Linked DNA regions of Homo sapiens: all the other regions are linked to region 6. Evidence: promoter capture Hi-C in 16 types of primary human blood cells and fetal thymus (Javierre and others, 2016). All regions are on one chromosome and are shown on one strand. The core of a region is centred on a gene start or on the middle of the fragment in contact, and the rest is flanking DNA. Distances in the headings are between cores, read along the strand shown.

What was found. Contacts are between HindIII fragments. The CHiCAGO score rates a contact against its expected background, and 5 or more counts as called.
Region 1: a fragment that was not itself captured here is called in contact with the fragment with the promoter of APP in region 6 in 7 of 17 cell types (fetal thymus, naive CD4 T cells, endothelial precursors and 4 more); the score reaches 7.6 in fetal thymus.
Region 2: a fragment that was not itself captured here is called in contact with the fragment with the promoter of APP in region 6 in 12 of 17 cell types (fetal thymus, non-activated CD4 T cells, naive CD4 T cells and 9 more); the score reaches 18.9 in fetal thymus.
Region 3: a fragment that was not itself captured here is called in contact with the fragment with the promoter of APP in region 6 in 1 of 17 cell types (endothelial precursors); the score reaches 10.2 in endothelial precursors.
Region 4: a fragment that was not itself captured here is called in contact with the fragment with the promoter of APP in region 6 in 1 of 17 cell types (megakaryocytes); the score reaches 5.8 in megakaryocytes.
Region 5: a contact is called between a fragment that was not itself captured here and the fragment with the promoter of APP in region 6, in 1 of 17 cell types (fetal thymus). The highest score is 5.8, in fetal thymus.
Region 7: a fragment that was not itself captured here is called in contact with the fragment with the promoter of APP in region 6 in 4 of 17 cell types (erythroblasts, fetal thymus, megakaryocytes and 1 more); the score reaches 6.7 in erythroblasts.

What each region holds. Positions count from the first base shown.
Region 1 is chr21:25,757,239-25,760,438 of GRCh38, reverse strand. GABPA (GA binding protein transcription factor subunit alpha) reads right to left here. Exons shown (of 10, transcript NM_002040.4): 6 at 2,235-2,429. Among named protein-coding and RNA genes, the nearest start is that of GABPA, 24 kb to the right of the region's middle. The HindIII fragment of the contact is 1,468 bases long and covers 730-2,197 here.
Region 2 is chr21:25,737,851-25,741,111 of GRCh38, reverse strand. The region is part of intron 1 of GABPA (GA binding protein transcription factor subunit alpha); the gene reads right to left. Among named protein-coding and RNA genes, the nearest start is that of GABPA, 4.5 kb to the right of the region's middle. The HindIII fragment of the contact is 2,157 bases long and covers 182-2,338 here.
Region 3 is chr21:26,582,852-26,585,682 of GRCh38, reverse strand. No RefSeq gene overlaps it. Among named protein-coding and RNA genes, the nearest start is that of CYYR1, 11 kb to the right of the region's middle. The HindIII fragment of the contact is 3,264 bases long and covers 1-2,831 here.
Region 4 is chr21:26,564,869-26,567,959 of GRCh38, reverse strand. CYYR1 (cysteine and tyrosine rich 1) reads left to right here. Exons shown (of 4, transcript NM_001320768.2): 2 at 1,592-1,694. CYYR1-AS1 (CYYR1 antisense RNA 1) reads right to left here. Exons shown (of 4, transcript NR_135515.1): 4 at 1-3. Among named protein-coding and RNA genes, the nearest start is that of CYYR1, 6.9 kb to the left of the region's middle. The HindIII fragment of the contact is 9,781 bases long and covers 1-3,091 here.
Region 5 is chr21:25,703,970-25,707,217 of GRCh38, reverse strand. JAM2 (junctional adhesion molecule 2) reads right to left here. Exons shown (of 10, transcript NM_021219.4): 7 at 1,132-1,239. The region is part of intron 1 of LOC124905002 (a long non-coding RNA gene); the gene reads left to right. Among named protein-coding and RNA genes, the nearest start is that of ATP5PF, 29 kb to the left of the region's middle. The HindIII fragment of the contact is 864 bases long and covers 1,439-2,302 here.
Region 6 is chr21:26,169,366-26,172,431 of GRCh38, reverse strand. APP (amyloid beta precursor protein) reads left to right here and starts at 1,662. Exons shown (of 18, transcript NM_000484.4): 1 at 1,662-1,868. The coding sequence starts at 1,812. It overlaps APP-DT (APP divergent transcript), which reads right to left and starts at 1,565. Exons shown (of 4, transcript NR_186396.1): 1 at 1,380-1,565. RefSeq lists silencers at 1,310-2,139, 2,640-2,909 and enhancers at 1,927-2,451, 2,950-3,066. The HindIII fragment of the contact is 2,642 bases long and covers 1,177-3,066 here.
Region 7 is chr21:25,720,911-25,723,742 of GRCh38, reverse strand. No RefSeq gene overlaps it. Among named protein-coding and RNA genes, the nearest start is that of ATP5PF, 13 kb to the left of the region's middle. The HindIII fragment of the contact is 4,581 bases long and covers 1-2,832 here.

The DNA of each region.
Region 1 (3,200 bases), core at 214-2,713, 410 kb after region 6:
CTGCTTCTTGAGAGATCACTGAGGATGGATAATAGAGGCTGGGTTATTAACAGTTCTGTCCCAGAATCAGTGCCTTTCGCAGATAGGCTGCAGACTTCTCTCTACAGAAGGGACCAGAGTACTAACTACACTGAGCTCAAAAAACCCTATTCTGAGAAGTAAGACTTGTGAATTCTAGAAAGTCTGTTAGAAATACCCTTACACATCATCCTGCCCATCTCCCAATTCTGAACTGAGCACTAGATTTCCAAAGCAGATGGGATTTCCCTACCCCGGCAGAGTGAAGAACCATGGCTGGATCACCAAGAAATTCCGTGAGACACTCATCTAGGCTGTGGGACTTTGTTGCTTTAAAAGACAAAGCAATGGTTCCAGAGCAGAGCTTTTCTGAGGAAGACTCATTCAACTGCATGGAAATGGAAAGATACACAAGACACCTTTGACTTCTGTTCTGGGAAAAGCCTATGAATAAGCTTTAAAGTTTGAGAAGCAATAAGAGAACCAGAAAGAGACAGCCACAACAAACAGCTGACCTGGGAAAGACTGGAAAAAACGTGGATTTGGGAAAAATGAAACTACCATCTATGCACTATCTTTGTTGTGTTCTTGAGATTTCTTATAAGAAAGTGTTTCAATAAACATGACTCACATGTTTCACAATTCAGAATCTACCTTATTCATTTCAAAACCTCTGCAGGGAAGGAAATCTGTGAAACCAAGGACAAAGCTTCAACCAGGACATTCAACTTACTTATCTAGTAAGAATGGAAATTGGAAATAAATGCTGCAAATACAATGAATGTACTAAGTCTTTTAGTATCATAGATACTTAAAAAAAACATCTGGGAGAATCCTCACAAGAATAAAATTATAAACAATTAAGAAATGCCTCTCTCCAGAGCTCATTTCTTATTCACCAGCAGAGAAAGCACTTTCAACTCCTCATCTCAAGTGATCTGCCCACCCCAGACTCCCAAAGTGCTGGGGTTACAGGAGTGAGCCACTGCACCTGGCCAGAGAAAGCACCTTGAATGAAAACTGCAAGCATTGAATTACGGTGGAAAAATCCCTCCACCAGAGCTCTCTCCTTATTGGGTATATAATAAAACAAAATGCTATCATTAACATTTTCATCCATAACTGATACAAAAGCAAAGTCAGAGTATGTTGTAGTCATGTGTTCTGAAAAATATGTGGGTCTGGCTAGCATTTCTGATATGCAAAACTGTCAAGGAATGGGTTGCTTTCGGTGTCTTAACAGTGACTGAAATATAAGATGGATTAAAATTCAAGCAAAAATAATTTACATTTGTGCCTTGTTTTCTTGGACAGCCAAGTAGTTTCCAAACTTCTCTCTCTCTTTTTTTTCCAATTGAGACTCTTGCTCTGTCACCATGCTGGAGTGTAGTGGCGCAGTCTCAGCTCACTGCAACCTCCGCCTTTCAGGTTCAGGCTATCCTCTCGCCTCAACCTCCCAAGTAGGTAGGACTACAGACACGCACCACCTTGTCCGCCTATTTTTTGTATTTTTAGTGGAGATGGGGTTTCACCACGTTGGCCAGGCTGGTCTCGAACTTCTAACCTCAAGTGATCTGCCTGCCTCATCCAATTTCTTTACATGGTCACTTAATCATAATAATGTCTGAAGCCTTACAAGTTATAAGTGGAAAAACTTATAACCAATGGCTTCCAATGCCAAAAGGTGGCTGCATACACTTCCTTCCCTCTTAAGACTCTATTCAATTAATAGTAAAGACTTCAAAAAAGATTTAATCTCATCAATAATGAAGAGAATGGGTAGGAAGCCACCTGTAAACAAATGATCTCTTCCGTTTCTAGATGAGCAGTAAATGTAAGAGCTGATCAAACAGAAGGCAACAAATGGAATATATGAAGAGGGCTAAGTGTAGGGCACAGCATCTGATTTAAGAACTTGGATTCTAATGTTAGCCTGGGCTTGAATCCTGGCTCTGCCACTTCCTAGCTGTGACTTTATGGGGCTCTCAAAGCCTCACTTTCCTATCTAAAAAATAAGCAAAGTAATGACTTATGGTGTTACTATAGGAATTAAAGAACATATAGAGCTTTCAGCATAGCATTATACAGTAAATAAATGTTAATTATTATTGCTTATTACTTATCATTATCAATAAACAACTAAGATGAAAACAAAGTTACAAGGAAATAAAATTAAGCTTAAATTACAATGTAAAGAAATAACTGTAATTTCATACATTTTCGGAGAAGTTCCAGATGACTCCAGAGAATTTCTCCCCGAGGAACCCGCTGAAAAAAATCTTCTTGGTTGAGACTACATAATTCTCTCCCCGAAATGTTGAGTGTGGTGAGGTCTATATCGGTCATGCTGAATTCCTTCATTACCCAAACCACCCAATGCAGGACTTGGTCTGTGGACCACTGTATGGGATCTAGAAAGAAAAATATTCACTTTAGCCTAGTTCCATTTTAGATACTGTGTAAATTTACAGTTAACTTCTCAATACACACACATACACACAGATGTTTTCTTTCCCCAAGTATATGAGGTAAACTTACTATATGAAGCAAAAAAAAAAAAAAAAAAAAAAATTATGCTGTAATTTTTTCCTCAGCTCCTTTCCAATTTCTTAATCTAAATTTCTGATGCAGTCACTTGGTTCAACCTCAGCTGGAACTGTATCAAGAAAAACAAAATGCAAAACTGCTCTCCAGTGGGCCAAATGAAAGAATAAAATATGAGATTATTCTGGAGAGAATAAAGTAAATTATCCAAGTTTAAAAAAATTTGCAGTTGCATTGAAAAAAAATCAAAAGGGGATTCTAAGAAGCTAGCTTTATTCTCCAAACTATGAACCATATCCTTTTTCCTCCCTTTTCCTTCCTGTAAAAAGCTGGCTGCTCCTGCATTTACCCTTATGATGCATTTCCAATAAATAAATAAACATGGTAATTGCCTGTTTTACTCAGCTGTCCCCTCACAACACACTAAGAAATACAAGAAATGTGTCTTGTAAACCATTCTATCTTTAGAACCTAACAGTGCCTTGCTCATACACTTGTTTAATCTTAAAGAGTATATCCAAATAATTTTCCTTTTCCCTATCATTTACTACCTAATTGAATTCATAAATAAAAAAATATGGCCAATATCTATAAATATTACATTGCTGTATCACCCGCACCTAATAGAGCATTCTATC
Region 2 (3,261 bases), core at 11-2,510, 430 kb after region 6:
AAACTAATTTTTTAAAAAACTGGTGTTTATTAACCTGACATGACAACTTCATTAATCTACTGGATTTACTGAGATGTTTTCGGGACCAATTGCAATCAACAAGTTACCTCAAAATTAAGTTAAGGGTCTGTTAACTATATTAAAGCAACTCAGTCTCAATAACAGATTCAAACCTGAAGCTTAACATGGAGATGAACTATGTTTATTCAGCTGAAAGTTGTACCTTAGTAGCAGAATTTACTGCAAAGTATCACACTGATACAATGATATGCAAATTAATCAGCTAGGATTTGGTACAAATGATGTCTCTTATAAATGCAAGAATATTATAAAACAGCAAAACAAAGTAACAAATTACAGATATGCACATTATTTCCCTGATTACACACAGTAGAAAATTTTTAATGATTTTTTCAGAGGTGGTTTTATTTTAAACAGACCACTACTTCAGTTTTTAATTATCCCATGTAAAATTTTTATCTATTGCTTAAAACCACTGATACAAAAACATTAGAATTTTAAAAATGCTAAAGAATACACAAATAGCTAATATACATAGATATTTCTTTGTGGACATGTCTGAGGTGTTAATACTGTTAAGTACCAGGTTCTGTTATTAACTACCTCGCAGTAGGTCAATGAATGTCTTTGAATTCCATACGCACTTTCAGTCCACAGCACCTTCTGAGTAGTTATTCTAAGCGTACTACCACATCTAAAAAGAGGCGTACCTTTAAAAGGAACGCTCCACTAAATTTGGTATTTCGACATTTACAAAAGAGTTGTGCTCCCACTTACAAGATTTCACTAAATGAAGAATTTAAATGTTCATTTGTATTAACCATTACTCGCCGAGCATCAGGCACTGCATTCAAATGCTTTGCATAGAGCAATCTTATTTTGAGCTCCATCTCATACGAACGCTATTCAGAGGTGAGGCTAAACCACTTGTGGCTCCATGTCACAGTTTTGGTGTATCAACCTAAGTAGGTATCATTCCAGATGGGGATGAACCATGGTTGTCCAAATATAGGCTCTGTATTGCGTATATCAGTACAACAGCCACCACCACCCCTTACCTGGAGTACTGCAACAATCTCCTAAAGGGGGTCCCTGTGTCCACTCTTGTCCCCTCACAGTCTATTCTCAGTCAATACAACGGCCAGAGTGTGATCGTTTTTAAAACGCAGCTAGGGCCAGATACGGTGCCTCATGCCTGTAATCCTAATACTCTGGGAGATCGAGGAGAGAGGACTGTTTGAACCCATGAGTTCAAGACCAGCCTGGGCAACATAAAAAGAACCTGTCTCCTATAAAAACATTTTTAAAATTAGCCAGGCATGGTGGTGTGCAACTGTTGTCCTAGCTACTTGGGAGGCTGAAGTGAGAAGATCGCTTGAGACCAGGAGTCGAGGCTGCAGTCAATGATGATCGTGCCACTGCACTCCCTCCTGGGCAACAGCGAGACCCTATCTCTTGAAACAAATAAATAAAAGTAGAAGGTCCTTAAAAGTAGAAGAGGAAATTGGAAGAGAGAGCCAGAGTGATTCAATGTGAAGATCTGCCGGTTAGCTGTGACTGGCTTTGAAGATGGAGGAAAGGAGCTTTGAGCCAAGGAATGCAGGTAGCTTCTGAAAGCTAGACAAGGAACGGATTCTCCCTCGAAGGCTCTAGAAAAACAGCACTGGCAACACCTCATTTTAGCCCAGAGACCTACTTCATATTTCTGACTCCAAAACTGTAAGATAATAAACAGGTGGTGTTTTTAAGCCACTAAATTTGCATAATTTGTTACACTAGCATTAAGAAACTGAGTCTCCCTTCCCACTTTAGAAAGGGCTATAACTCTCCTAAGTTCTCAATATCTCCAACTATGGGGTAGCTGGTTTTCTGACAAATAGCTGGCACCCAAATCTAGACTGCCTGATACAAAATGATCTAATTTTTCCCACGTAATTAAGGTTGCTCTCAGGCTTGCCCTTTAAGGACGAACAATAAAAGGGTAAGGTTCTCCACTGGGATGGACGCATGCATATGGAGCAGACTGCGCAGGCTCCGTTCACAAGCACATCTAGCCGACTGCGCAGATTCTGTTCACGTGCATATCTAGCAGAATGCGCAGGCTCCAGCAGGCTTTTTTGGGGATGATGAAGAAATGAAGACCCTCTGTTTTTGGTTTTTTTTTTTCTTGCTGATGCTGGTCTAATAAGCCTTCCTTTTCTCCAATAAAGCCTATTCCTTAACTGGTGCTATGTGTAAAATTGTGGAATTCATCCTGAGGGCTGAAGAAAACAGGTGGAAACCGAGTAGGGATCTACCTTGAAGGACAACATAAGCTTCCAGGGCAAGAATATGTGTTCACAAATATATACAAAGTACTCTGAAGAGTACTACCTTCAGCAGGCACTCCACCAATATGTGTTGAATAAATGAATAAGAACTATTTCACACCATATAAAATGAACTACACATGCCTTAAAGGATTAAACATACAAGGCAAAACTATGAAACAGAAGAAAATGGTGGGGACATTTTTGTGGTCTCAGGATAGAAAAAGATTTCTTAAATAAAATTCCAAGAACATAACCGTAAGGAGAAAAATCTGATTACATAAAAATCAAGATTTATGTTCAACAGACAGGCTACAGAATGGAAAGATGTTTCCAATACCCAAAAGTGACGATGGAATAGACAATGGCCTGGAATTTGATAACCAAAAAAAGGGACAAATTAGAAAAGTAGTTAAAGCATAGGAAAAGGATATTCACATAACGGGAAACCAAAATAACTCAGGATACAAAGAAATGCCCAAATTCAAATCATTCAAAAGTTCAATTTAAAACAAGAAACTACCACTTTATACCATGTGTGTGTTGGGGGCAGGGGGCGGCGGCGGCGGCAAATGTCAGAAAATTAAATAACGAGAGCAGTTAGCAGGGACATAAGATTCCCCTATCTCTGGAGATGTGGTGTACACACAGGTGTAGACATTCTGGAGAAAAGTATATCAAGCATACTCATACCTATAACCCAGCAATTTCATCCCTAACTAAGCATTCCAGAAAAATTCTCAAATTGGTTAACAGGATTGATTGACAATGTTCAGGGCAGCTTTATTGGTGACAGCTGGTGCCAATCCAAGTGTCTATTTTAAGAAAGTATTAATCAAAGAAAATGTGGAGAAAGTATACACTATGGAATTTCAGTATTGGTTAAAAGGAAATAATGTCCACACAAAATAGATATATTATAAAAAACTGT
Region 3 (2,831 bases), core at 249-2,748, 410 kb before region 6:
ATTTTACAAACATATAGAGTGGGAGACTTGCTTTAATTAAACAAAGAATGTTTCCCATTTTTTTCTCTTTGTATGGTGAAATATTTGTATGTTCCAAAAAGACAAAATTGTCATAATATGAATGACATTTATATTTGTTTATTACTACAGAATAAATTTCCATGTTTTAAGCAAACAGGCATTCCATTAGTTTTTCCATATCATTCTCTGTACTGCAAGCAGAAATAAGATATCATCCACTAGAAGAATTTCCAGTTGTATTAAAATCAATGCATCAGACCTTCAATTGGAAAACAATGATAGTCATCAGATTTCAAATCTCCACATAGAACCTCTCACCAACAAAAGAAACATACATTTACCTAGTTATAATTCATCTATTTAAACGGTATTTGTTGTTACATGCTAATGTATATCCTGCTACCCTACGGAGTTATGTATCTAACAACACAGAAATCGAAATGTATAATATGAAACTGCAAAAGTATTATTATTGAGGGTAAGTTCCTCTACAATCTGAGAGTAGAAAAAGACTTTCTGCCCAAAACTTCACAACCCAGGCACCACAAAAAGAAAATTATTACATTTGACCTCTTTAAAATTAAATCCTTTGTATGGCATGAACACCATAAGTGAAAGAAATTGCAACATATACCACTTTAAAAAATCTAACATCCCTAATATACAAAGAAATTTTTAAAATTGAGGGAAAAACACCAAAATCCTAAAGAAAAATGGGCAAAGATTTGAATAAGTAACTCACAAAAAGATTATAACTAACAGTCCTGTGATGTTCAATTTCACTCATAAGAGAAATGCAAGAAAAATCAACTCTTCCATCAAATTGGCAATAAAGAAAAAATCCAAAAGCTCAGCAATATATTATGTAGGCAAAGTTGTAAGGAATACATTACTGCTGGGAATGCAAAATGTCACAGTCCCTCTAGAGCAGGATTTGGCAATATTTAGCAAAATGCGTTACCACTTCTGCAAATTTACCCTGAGATATAGCTCCAACAACAAGAAAATACATATTTTCAAGGTTATTAAGGTTATTCATTGCAGCATTATTTGCTATTGCAAATACCGATAAGTAAATATTCAAACATATGAGAAAACAATGGTACACATTTCGTGTAAACTATGGAGCAACAATAGATGAATGAGGACAATCTCTAGGAACTGATATGGAATGATCTCCTGGATATATCATTCAGTACAAACAAAAAACAAAAATAGTGCAAAAGAACATATACAGTATGCTATCTTCCGTGTAAGAAGGAAAGGGAAATAATGAAATCTGTACCAATAACTCTAATTTCAATCCATCACCACGAGGTTCTTCCTTGCTGTTACCCATTCCACAATCCTATAATACATCTAAAATAATTTCAGAATTGCTTTGCATATATCACCACAACAAGCTACTAAAAAATCTGCTTATCTTTATTAAAAAAGAAACACATTAGAGAGAAACTAGAAAATCATGACCACCGGTTATGTTAGAGGAACAGGGAGACTGGAATGGAGGCATACGGGAAGGATTAACACTTCCCTGAATATAGCCTTTGGTATTTATTTTTTTTTTTTACTTTTAGAAGCTCTCTAATGTTCTACATATTCAAAAAACAAGTCAACAATGATGGGAGAGAAAACAAAGCAAACAATAGCAGCACCAATAGCAGCAACCTAAGTAAAACCGAAAGCAAATGGAAATAAATGAACCCAAATGCATTTCAAGTGAATTAAAGTTGGCAGGGGTAGGGGAGCACTAACTCAAGTAAGTGATGAACACAGTAACTGACTATACGCCCTCAGTCTTGGGTGGAGTTGGGGGGAGAATTAATTGAAAGCACAATCTAAATTCTTTTTAGTGTTTTTTTTTTGTATTGTTATTTTATGTTGTGGTATGGACAGAGCAATTCAATTCTGAAACTGTTTTAGATGTATTACAGGAGTGAGTGAAGAAATAGCAAGTGTAAAAAGAGTTACAAATATGGAGTGAGAGAAGTCAAGGAACAGCCCTATGGTGATGATATATATATATACACATTATATATATATATACACAGCTACATATATACATATATATATCTGAGTGCCCGTGTGTGTGTGTGTGTGTGTAAAACATGCATATATTTCCTAGCTCTTATACTGAAAGAGACAAGATACAAAGGCACTCCAGCAGTAACATGCACTTTGATTTCTTTCTTTTCCCCATTCTTTTTTTTTATTATTATTATACTTTAAGTTCTAGGGTACTTTGATCTCTAAGACCATTATCCACTAAAAGGACCCAGAACTCCTCAGAGAAATGACTGATTTCAGGGCTGGAGCAGAGAAGATTCAAAATGAACCTGGGATATCTTTTATGTCAAAAAGTTAAGAAATTCCCAAAACACTTGTGGGGTTGTGTCACAAGGACACAATAGCTAGCTTGAAGATGCTCCACTGGCCCAAAATGGGACATTTTAAGATTAATGAATTATAAACTCTTGAAAAAGTAGGAATTCTTAAGTCCATACTCACAATCAATCAATCAATGAGGGAGAGGCATTCTTATTTTGAATGACGAGCAACAACTGGTGAATAGACAGAGGGAAAGCTGGAGTTCAAAACATGATAATTTGCATCCATAACAGTAAAGATTGCTTCAAGCAAAAATTACTAATGTGTGTTAAACCTAAAGGAGGAAAATTTGCTGAAGAGCAGGATATTTGCACGGCTTAATGTCTCCCTGTAGATTGCATATTGGTAGGAAAGGAAAAATTAGCAAATATAGGTTGGAAGTTTCCAACAGATTAACACACATACTGAAATATTTAGGGGGA
Region 4 (3,091 bases), core at 592-3,091, 400 kb before region 6:
AATCTGTAATGTAAAAATAAAATTGAGGAGAAGAAAATACGAACTTTTCCATTTGTTCCACAAAAGCCACGCATAATTGTTAATGGTGACTGAACTTTGCTGCCTTTTAATCACATCTCTTTGTAAAGTATCATCTTAGCAGGGAAGTGATTTAAAAGCAATGTAAAATTTCCTTTCTGGATAAATCAGTTACATGGACGTGCAGACATAAATATAATATTTTGTATTTTTAATGTTATAGCTTTGATAGGGAAACAAAAGTTTTATATAATTTATATAATAATTAATATTACCTTCAGGAATTGAGCTGGAAATGGATTATTTTGTGACTCTTAAATGTACAACATAAATTATCAGACTGTACTTAATGTTTTCCTAATCATGTATCTGAAACTTATATATCCATCATAACTTATACGACTAAGTCAGTGACAACCTTTGCTTGTTAAACATAAATCATTTAGGTGGAATAAAGAATACTTAAAAGCTAGAGTAATTTTTATCCAACATTTTTAGTATAATTTTTCTTGCAGCAAAATATATGGAAAAAATAGTAATTTCTGATCCTTTATTCAGAAAATAACTCTTCCCCCTTCACATAGTACTGTTTTATATCTTACTGATTCCTCAATCTGACATTAAGTAAACTCTTCATTATTTACAAAATAATTGTCTCTGGGGATTTCTTCCTATAACCAATCATCTTTTCATCCAGATGAATTTACAGGATGCAGACTCATTGTGTTACCACACATATGCAAACTGTAATTATACAGGTAAAAAAAAGTCACCAAATGAAAAGCATACAATGCACTATCATGGAAAAATATACATCATTTTGAAATTATTCCTTTTTGGTATTATATATGCCACTAAACCTTCTATTGATTGAGCTCAGTTGGGAATACAAGACCCTAAAGTAAGAAGACTCTTTTTTTTTTTTTTTTTTTTGAGACAGAGCCTCACTGTGTCGCCCAGGCTGGAGTGCAGTGGCATGATCTCGGCTCATTGCAACCTCCATCTCCTGGGTTCAAGTAATTCTCCTGCCTCAGCCTCCTGAGTAGCTGAGATTACAGGTGTGCACCACGACACCCAGCTACTTTTTGTATTTTTAGTAGACACGGGATTTTATCATGTTGGCCAGGCTGGTCTCAGACTCCTGACCTCAAGTGATCACCCGCCTCAGCCTCCCAAAGTGCTGGGATTACATGCGTGAGCCATTTTGCCTGGCCAAGAAGGCTTTATCATTTAAAAATTATTATAAAAACTCTATGGACAAATCCAGCGACTGAGTAGTTTAATTGTTCTTTCATTCCTTCCTTCATTATCTCATTCCACTAACCCTGACTGGTAATTATGGTGCTTGGTGTAGAAGATTCAAGAGTTGTCTTTGTCTTTACAGCTTAGAGTCTAATGGGGAAGAGAGGCTAATTTAGATCCTTACAAATGTTTTTGAATTCTGAGGACGAAAATGAAGATTTAAAACCACTAAAGGGTGGTCATTGGCTGATTAAGTTGTGAAATAGAATAATTTTTCTTGAAACTGTGATTTTACAACTATAACTGCTCACAAGTGGTTTTTGTTTTGTAGATGATTGCCTTGCTCAGTGTGGCAAAGATTGCAAATCTTACTGCTGTGATGGAACCACGCCCTACTGTTGCTCCTACTACGCTTATATTGGGAATATCCTCTCGTGAGTATTCGTCAGATTTGGCAATACTGATGCTCTTCCTCTTGTCCAGTTGTCCAGTTATGTCTTTTAAAAGTACTAAGTGATAGTTGTGGGCAAGAGATTTCAAGATTGGTTATTGACATGAAATCTTTACTGGAGATATTAACACATCGCTATCTAATGGACTATATTGTTTGACAAAATATGCAAAATAATATACAAAATAAATTGCCTTCATTATAAAGGAACTAAAAAGAGTTATTCTTTTATTGTTTTACTTTGTGTACTATAATAATGTTTTAAGTAGACATCATTTTATTGATAATTTTATAACATCATCAGTGATATGGTTTTGTCTGTTTTGTGCAAGTTAAGATTTGTTATTTAATTATAGCCAGTTTATTTTGTCATCATGTATTAATTTAATACATCCAGTAGATGTCAGGAAAAAGAGAGGTTATGAATAAAAAACAGTTGAGACATGAAATGTCAGTTCTCACATGATACACATACAGCAACTTCAGGAAACAAGTTTAGAGCCTAAGACAAGCTAGGTATGAGTAATGCAAAGTGATAAACAACAAGGCACAAAAACACAAATGAAATATGTACATGTAGACTCTGTGAAGCATTTCCTTGTAACAAATTAGAAATTTATTTTAGAGCCGATTCTGGACAAAGGGAAATATGGAAGCTGGACCTGCCTCCAGGGCTGTACGGCTGGAAAAGTGTGCACTTGTCAATTCCTCAAGAGAGGAACCCACAACTGAGAAACGAGGGTTGAGAATTGGGAACATAAGAATTTCTTGAGTCAAAATCCCCATGGCTTTCAGAGAGCAGCAACGGTTGTGCCTCTGTCTTCTGTTCTTGTTTTTCAAGTCAGTATCATGATGATTTGGGAAATGTTCTGTTTAATTCATGCCCTACAAAGGCTCAAGTGGAAACGGGAAACATTAGGCGCTAAGTCATATGTGCCTGGCTGTTTTAGGGAAGTGTCCGTTGAGACGGCTTGTTACACATCCTCCATTTCCCGAGAATAGAAAACCTGGCACCACATAAACTTTCTGGAATCAGTGTTGAGGCTCCTATTAGAGATCATGACTCTGAGAATACAAAATAAAAAATCATACTTTGGGATACTCTTGAACACTATAATAGATGTGAAAGAAATGTCAAGCTATAATTAAAAACCATGTATAGAATTTAAGCCTTCCTTGAAATGCAAATAAGCTCCAATAAAATGTTTGAATTTTTCTTCATGGATGGTTTGGTAGAAAAGAAATTAAGCCCACTTTTTACATTAGAAAACTGTCAGGATGATTTTTTACAGTAACTTATCAGCTCAAATTTAAATATATAATGATGTTTACAGTGGCATATTACTTCGCAGTATTTAAAGTAACAAAATATATTATTAA
Region 5 (3,248 bases), core at 621-3,120, 470 kb after region 6:
GAGCCACCACACCCAGCTGAACAATTCTCTTCTAAATACAGTTGTCCTAAATTTAACATTCAACATTTCACTGTTCTACACTGATGAAATATTTCACTTATTTATTTCAATGAAATTTCTTAAAGAATTTGAAATCAACTTATATCTTGAGATATACAATTCCTAACTTAAAAATATCTTGTCTGGGCGCGGTGGCTCACACCTGTTATCCCAGCACTTTGGGAGGCCAAGGTGGGTGGATCAGGAGGTCAGGAGATTGAGACCATCCCGGCTAACACGATGAAACCCCGTCTCTACTAAAAATACAAAAATTAGCCGGGCGTGGTGGCGGGAGCCTGTAGTCCCAGCTACTCGGGAGGCTGAGGCAGGAGAATGGTGTGAACCTGGGAGGTGGAGCTTGCAGTGAGCCGAAATTGCGCTACTGCACTCCAGCCTGGGCGACACAGTGAGACTCCGTCTCAAAAAAACAAACAAAAAAAAATCTTAAAAACATGCAAAGATACTATAAATATCCGTTCACATTGAATATCTCTGTCTCGCTGCACTGCACCACTCCAAGGATGCCTCTTGCATATTCTGTGGTGCTCCCTGGAATGTGCAACTAGGCAGTTCTGCCTTTTCTCCCTAGGTTTGCCAAGGTGTTTCATAAGCCACCTGCATGTCATCCTGAACATTTTCTATAGCAGAAAATAAATGAACAATATTCTCCAGAGTTTGTTAAAACTTGCTAGGAGAGGGCCGGGCACAATAGCTCACACCTGTAATCCCAGCACTTTGGAAGGCCAAGGCAGGCAGATCACTTGAGGCCAGGAGTTCGAGACCAGCCTGGCCAACATAGCGAAACCCCATCTGTACTAAAAATACAAAGATGAGCTGGGTGTGTTGGTGCACACTTGCAATCCCAGCTATTTGGGAGGCTGAGACATGAGAATCACTTGAACCTGGGAGGTGGAGGTTGTATTGAGTGGAGATTTTGCCACCACTGCACTCCAGCCTGGGCAACAGAGCAAGACTCTGTCTGAAAAACAAACAAACAAACAAAAAAACAACTTCCTAGGAGAAACAGTATCTCATAAATAAACTCCATAGCCATAGAAAGTTATCTGCCAAAGAAGGGTGAAATTCACTTACTTGAAAAGTAGCCTTTCCTCTGAGCATAGCATACACCAAGGCCACAAACGGAAATCACTAAGGCCACAACTACTACGGCTGCTATGATGCCACTTATGTTGAGATCATCTGGAATGTAAAATAAATTACGCATAAATATATGTGGATTACACGGACAGATGCAGTCATTAAATTGAAAAGGTTCAAAAAAAGATCCCCTTTGCAGCTATATCATAAAGCATACTTTAACGATTGTGAAGCCTGTTCAACTAACTCACTTCTAAGACATGGTTCAAAATTGATTAAAAATATTAACAGAACTTAAGCTTTGGAAAAATACTAAATTTTAAAAACTTCTCAGATTAAAAAATAAAATGTATTCTTTTGCATTCATTTGGAGATGTGTAATAATTCACAGGATTAAAAGACTGGAAGCAATCTTTGAAGTTCAATGAGTTCAAGTATTCTACTGCCACTCCCTACCCCACGTCTTACTTAAAATTCTCCTACATCATCAACTGTGTCAATTTCACAAATAAAGAAAAACTCAACGTCAAAGAAAACACATGGTGCCAGGCATGTTGACTCATGCCTGTAATCCCAGCTACTCAGGAGGCTGAGGTGGGAGGACTGCTTGAGGCTAGGAATTTGAGACCAGCCTAGGCAACATAGCAAGAATCCATCTCTAAAAAATAAAAAAATTAAAAAAATTATCCGGGTATGGTGGTGCATTCCTGGAGTCCCAGCTACTCAGGAGGCTGAGGTTGGAGGATCACTTGAGCCTAGGAGTTTCAGATTATAGTGAACTATGATTGCACTACTTCTCTCCAGTCTGGGTGACAGAGCAAGACTGTCTCTTAAAAAAAAGCACATGTCATTGTTATTCTGTAAAACTAAGTGTAAGAAATACGTTCCTTCTTGAATTATATGGGTGTAGATATACAATTATATGTATATGGGTGTATACACACATACACAGTCATATACATATATGCAACTAAACTGTCATCCCATTTATGAAAAATGAATTAAATTCTCTGAGGCTTTTCCTATGACTGTTAAGGCATCCGTCCTCTAATGTAATGCAACTGGATTTTTTGAACCCAAGTTTGGAAATAACTACTGTGAAGTTTTTTTCTTCTTCTCAGATTGATTCTGTTGCCTAATAATTACATTATTAACCTTCCAAGCTTAACATTTCTGCAAATTGAGAATTTTATTAAAAATACTCTCATTCAAGTCATTAATAACATGATGAACATGGATTTGTTTAGGAAACAACTATGTAACAGGCTAGCAGACACCTCCTGTCATACAACACAATTTATTAACATTCTCTGAGCATGGGATTCAACTGTGTGTGGATCCACCAAAATATTGTTTGGACCATATTTCTCCATCTTGTCCATGAGGATTTTATGAGCCACACTCTTCTGCCATTTAGATACTTCCCATGTATTTATTAAAGGAGCAATTCTTCAAAGAGTTCCCATTTTACAAAGCAAGTTTTAATTAGCCTATGATTAAATAACCTAGAGAAAATATTACATAGCATTTTCTCAAAAATAATTTAAATATTTTAAAGCAATGTACATTTTGGAAATGATCTTTTTAGAGATACTGTTTAAGTGAATCTGCTTATCATAAAAACTTCTGGTCTCGAAATTCTTTCCTAATGCCAAGTGTGTTATTAATTTTCTTAAATACCTCCAAAATATTAATTGATTTTTTTAAAAAAGAAAACTTGATAAGTCTTTTGAAAGGTTAAGTAATTTGACCAGAGTAGAAAACATTAATTATTGCTTGGTATAAACTCAGTTTGCTTGGGTATTGAGAGGTCAATAAGATTCAGCTTTTTATTTACTTGGATTAAAAAGAGCAGAGAGAGAAAAAAATCTACAGTAATCATAATCTTAGGCAAAGTCAAATCAGTAAGTGAAATTCCTGAGAACCAAAGTGTACCTTCTATTTACTTTGTAGTAGTCATTAAATCTGACATCTATGAAGCATTCAAAGTAAGGGCTATTATCTGACAAAAAAAAAAAACTGTCTTGTAGTTTGTCAATGAATTTGACATCTATGAAGGAAGGATTCACCCTAAAAGAAACTACTGACAAAAAATTGTCTTGTTCTGTAAG
Region 6 (3,066 bases), core at 413-2,912:
TTTCTCTTTGCATTCAGATACCTTCTTTTTTGCCTTATTTGCTCATGCAGACCCGGAACAAATACGGAATTGCGGTGGGTAAATGTGGTGCAGAAAGTGAACAACTGGGTTTGTCCTGTCACTTTAGGCTTTTCCCTGCTGTCCCAGCTTCATGTCACTTACTTGCTATTAGATTTGGGAGTTCATTAGCTTCATTTTCCTGATGTATAAATAGGAATAATAGTAACAGCCTCTTTGGCTTTTGTAGGAAGTAAATGACATGAAGCGTATAAACAAATACTGCATGACAATAAATATTTGTCCTTATTTGTTGAGGACATCCAAAGGACATTCAGGGGCAAAAGTAATCCAAGAGTCAAGACTGAATGCCTAGTGCGGGAAAAGACACACAAGACAACATTTAGGGGAGCTGGTACAGAAATGACTTCCCAGGAAGGAAGTCTGTACCCCGCTGGCTGAGCCATCCTTCCCGGGCCTAGGCACCCTTGTCAGCGCAATGAGCAAGGGAGAGAAGGCAGGCTGCAGTGCAGCCCTCAGAAGGGCCAGAGCACTCCCTGGCTTCAGTCCTTCGCTCCAAGCCCTGTGTGGAGTGGGCTGTGGCTTGGTAACTAAATGCTACTTCAGGTCAAGAGCAGGGGATATATCTGGGCAGTTCTAGAGCATTCTAAACTATCTGGACACTAACTGGACAGTGGACGGTTTGTGTTTAATCCAGGAGAAAGTGGCATGGCAGAAGGTTCATTTCTATAATTCAGGACAGACACAATGAAGAACAAGGGCAGCGTTTGAGGTCAGAAGTCCTCATTTACGGGGGTCGAATACGAATGATCTCTCCTAATTTTTCCTTCTTCCCCAACTCAGATGGATGTTACATCCCTGCTTAACAACAAAAAAAGACCCCCCGCCCCGCAAAATCCACACTGACCACCCCCTTTAACAAAACAAAACCAAAAACAAACAAAAATATAAGAAAGAAACAAAACCCAAGCCCAGAACCCTGCTTTCAAGAAGAAGTAAATGGGTTGGCCGCTTCTTTGCCAGGTCCTGCGCCTTGCTCCTTTGGTTCGTTCTAAAGATAGAAATTCCAGGTTGCTCGTGCCTGCTTTTGACGTTGGGGGTTAAAAAATGAGGTTTTGCTGTCTCAACAAGCAAAGAAAATCCTATTTCCTTTAAGCTTCACTCGTTCTCATTCTCTTCCAGAAACGCCTGCCCCACCTCTCCAAACCGAGAGAAAAAACGAAATGCGGATAAAAACGCACCCTAGCAGCAGTCCTTTATACGACACCCCCGGGAGGCCTGCGGGGTCGGATGATTCAAGCTCACGGGGACGAGCAGGAGCGCTCTCGACTTTTCTAGAGCCTCAGCGTCCTAGGACTCACCTTTCCCTGATCCTGCACCGTCCCTCTCCTGGCCCCAGACTCTCCCTCCCACTGTTCACGAAGCCCAGGTGGGCCGTCGGCCGGGGAGCGGAGGGGGCGCGTGGGGTGCAGGCGGCGCCAAGGGCGCGTGCACCTGTGGGCGCGGGGCGCGAGGGCCCCTCCCGGCGCGAGCGGGCGCAGTTCCCCGGCGGCGCCGCTAGGGGTCTCTCTCGGGTGCCGAGCGGGGTGGGCCGGATCAGCTGACTCGCCTGGCTCTGAGCCCCGCCGCCGCGCTCGGGCTCCGTCAGTTTCCTCGGCAGCGGTAGGCGAGAGCACGCGGAGGAGCGTGCGCGGGGGCCCCGGGAGACGGCGGCGGTGGCGGCGCGGGCAGAGCAAGGACGCGGCGGATCCCACTCGCACAGCAGCGCACTCGGTGCCCCGCGCAGGGTCGCGATGCTGCCCGGTTTGGCACTGCTCCTGCTGGCCGCCTGGACGGCTCGGGCGCTGGAGGTGGGTGCCGCGCCTCGGAAGGCGGGGGGAGGCTGCACGGTGGGGACGCGATACCCCCCAAGACCTTAACCCAAGTCTTTAATGCAGAGAAGCCGGGGGTCCGTCAATGGGACCCCTCTCCTCTCCGCCCCCGCTTGCGGACGTCCAGCGCATCCCCGCTTTCGGCCCAGCCCTGCCCCAGGGAGTCGCGCTCCGGCCCGCTGAGAGGGAGCGGGCGAGGCGCTGGTCTCCCTGGTTCCGCGCCAGCCCGGGGCGAGAAGGGTAGGGGGCGACCCTGAGCCCAGACCCCGACTTAGTCCCTGCCTTGGAAGCGGGGGTCGGGGGAGGCGAGAGACATTCAGACAGGGGGGAAGGGGGAAGGAGCACGTGGGGAAAACCGAAAACGCAGCGTCCCTAAAGCCAGTCCTTCGCTCTTGAATCGTTGCCCTTTCCTTTCTCTTGGGCCCTGGGGAGGAGGAGGAGGAGTCGGGACAGCCCAGGAAGCTAGGAGCCCCTCGCTTTTCCCTGCGTTCTCCGCCTCGTTTCACCTTCCTCTCTCACCCCCATCCCCCTTCCTTGCTCCAACCTCTTTTCGCGGCTGCTGGCGGCGGCAGCCTGGGTGCGACCCTAGCCCGAGCCGGCGTCGGGGTCGCGCACCGCCTTCCACAGGCAAACTTTGTGCATGTCCGCGTCTCCCTTTTGTGTAACTTGCGAGAAATGGGAGGGGTCGGAGACCCATAGCCACCCCGCGCCTTCCCCAAGTCTGGACGTCCCGGGAGTTCGCTCGCACCCTAAGCTCTGTCTGAGAGGCAGAAGGTCCGCGGGAACAAAAGCCGCGACACCCCGCCCTCGCCGTGGGCCGAGCCGCGTTAGTCTCAGTGCGCCACCGAGGCTCCCGCCCGGCTCCCTTCCCGGGGCTGCGCGTCCGCCTGGGAGGGGGCAGAGACGCTGCCGGGGCTTCTGGCGGAGCCTCGGGGCCCCTCTGCTTCCCACCCTCGGATCACCTCCGAGGCTTAATTCTGTGCTGGGCTGTAAAGTCCTTGGCGGGGAGGAAATAAGGCGGAGAGTGGGATGTGCGTCTGGAAAGGGCAGTGGCGGATGGTGGGGAGGCACGGGCTCTGTCCTGTGCATCCAAGGAGGCGTTTGTCTGATTAAGGCGCGGCCTCTTCCCTGGCAGCTCTGGGGACTCTGGTTTAGTTCCCCTGGGGGCACAGGATGC
Region 7 (2,832 bases), core at 81-2,580, 450 kb after region 6:
AGCCTCCTGGGTAGCTGGGATTACAGGTGTGCGCCACCATGCCCGGCTAATTTTTGTATTTTTAGTAGAGACAGGGTTTCACCATGTTGGCCAGGCTAGTCTCAAACTCCTGACCTCAGGTGATCCACCCACCTCGGCCTCCCAAAGTGTTGGGATTACGGGCTTGAGCCACTGCGCCTGGGCCAAAGGGAATAGATTTTTATTATGGCATACTGTAGCTGAAGGCAAAACCTGCTAGGGAATACCTTTTTGAAAGATCTACAAATATTTCCTAATGACATAGATATGATTAATACGATGTGTAGAGACGGAATTGGGGAGGGCAGTACAGTAGGAAGAAACAGCCCACTTTTCTTCAAATGTGGCTAAGCAGTGACAGAACAGTTGAACTACTTTTATTTAAATAATTGCAGGCTTTGGAACAGAGAATCGGGTGTCTAATTATGGCACTATCTAAAGGTAATCGAGGAAGTCTAGTTGTCCCAGGGTCTTCCTTTAACCTCCCCTGAAACAGCTCTCCTCCACCTACCTGTGGCTGCAAAGCCATCTTGTGTCAGCTGGAACTGCCAGTCAGTAGAGAACAAACTGACCTTTTCTGCATATGCTTCCTCTCCCTGTCTCTTTACCTCCTTCTTCATTCAAAGTTTAGTTGAATTTTACCTTTTATCAGCTAACACAGTTATCTCATAACACATTTTTTACTTGTCTCACAACTGTGGAATTGCTTGCATGTCCCAGTCTCTTTGTTCATTATTGAAACAGGGTTCTGTTTGACTGTAAGAAGCATCCTATTCTCGTGCCCTATATTACAGGGCTGTGCATTTACATTTAAATTTTGGTCAGGCAAGCACTCCCTGTTTTCCAACTGAACCTCTCGTGGTGCTGTGAGTCACAGATCTTAACCAAGGCTTCGTCTTCCTCAGAGCCCCTTCCTCTTTTTGGCTAGGCTGCTCCAACCCTGCAAATGCTGGCCTTTGTGCAGCACTTCAGCCTGCCAGGTCACTCCTTGTCCTGCACTTAACCATTCAGAACCACCTTATGTGATTATGACAAATGATCTCAGCCTTGTGGTTATTTAAAATGGCTATTTTACCCCTTGCCTGGTGTTATGAAGAATTGTGTTTCCCCAAAATTCATACTTTGATTGAATTGAAGCCCAACCTCCAATACCTCATAATGTGACTTTGGAGACAGGGACTTTAAGTTAAAATGAGACCTTTAGGGTAGGTCTTAATCCTATCTGACTGGTGTCCTTATACGAAGAGGAAATTTGAGTTGAGGAGAGGTAAGGGGAACTAGAAAGGGACATGTGTCTGTTACTTACATAGCACTACCTTTAATAGTAACCCAGGAAGGCTAGGCAATTTTTACTTATTTAACATTTAGTGTAGGCTTTTTTGTTTGTTTTTTACTATTTCTCTGATTGTTGCTGCTCCTGGTGTAGCAGCCTTCCAAATGCTAGCTCTCTAGTAAGGTGCATGTATGAGTTCTTGCGGGGCCCTGTGGCTGAGGTCTTCCCAGTTGTACAGATTCCATTCCCTTAAATGGCAGGTTCATGCCAACTCCCTTCCAAACACCCCTTAGCTCCCACTGGAATGGTAAGTACACACTGTTTCCAATGTTTGGTCTGGTGAGACACTGGCAAGAAGGCTGAACGCCAACTACTTCCAATGGTGCCTACTGGATCCACGGGACACTCATGTCCTTGACCTAAGAAATCTTGGGAAAACAGGTATATTTCACCATCCTCCCCTACTTTGCTCTTTTTTTTTTTTTTTGAGATGGAGTCTTGCTCTGTTGCCCAGGCTGGAGTGCAGTGGCGCGATCTCGGCTCACTGCAAGCTCCACCACCCGGGTTCACGCCATTCTCCTGCCTCAGCCTCCCGAGTAGCTGGGACTACAGGCACCCGCCACCATGCCTGGCAAATTTTTTTCGCTCTCCTTTTTTTTAAGAGATGGGCTTTTGTTCTGTTGCCCAGGCAGTGGCTTGATCATAGCTCACTGCAGCCTTGAACTCCTGGGCTTAAGCAATCCCCCCAGTTCAGCCTCCAGAGTGGCTACAGGCTACAGGCATGCACTACCACGCCTGGCCCTCCCCCTCTTCTTGATATTTTTTTCCAGCTCCCTTTCCACTGGCTCAAATAGCTCCTATTTCCTTGGCAGGTGCCTTCAGTTTTTGCAAGTGATGTCTTAAATATTCTCTTTACTTCCTTTGGGGGTGACCTGGGGGAATAGTACTCCTTATGACTTTGGCAAACTCATTCTCTGTCTCTTTCCATCCCCTCGTTCCTTCCCATCCCAAATCCATCCATACACACTTCAGCTTATATGGACTGTGTGATGAGGTGAAGGGTAAAGAGTAGTGGTGGACTGGAGTAATTATTTCAGGGTGGCTGTCTCTTCATCAACAGTGAAGGGGTATTTATACCCAATGTATTTTTTCTTTTCTTTTTTTTTTTCTTTTCTTTTCTTGAAACAAGGTGTCACTCTTTTGCCCAGGCTAGAGTTGCAGTGGTGTGATCACAGCTCACTGCAGCCTCAACCTTCTGGGCTCAAGTGATCCTCCTGTCTCAGCCTCCCGAGTAGCTGGGACTACAGGTGCATGTCACCACACCCAGCTAGTTTTTCAGTTTTTTGAGACAGTCTCACTACGTCACCCATGCTGTTCTCGAACTTCTAGATTCCAATGATCCTCCCACCTCAGCCTCCCAAAGTGCTGGGATTACAGGTGTGAGCCACTGCGTCCAGCCTTCATTTTCCCTAGAAAGTGAGATACTTGTTTCTAGTCTTTAGGCAACAGAGAAAGTCCCAATTAACATCCTGTTATATGAA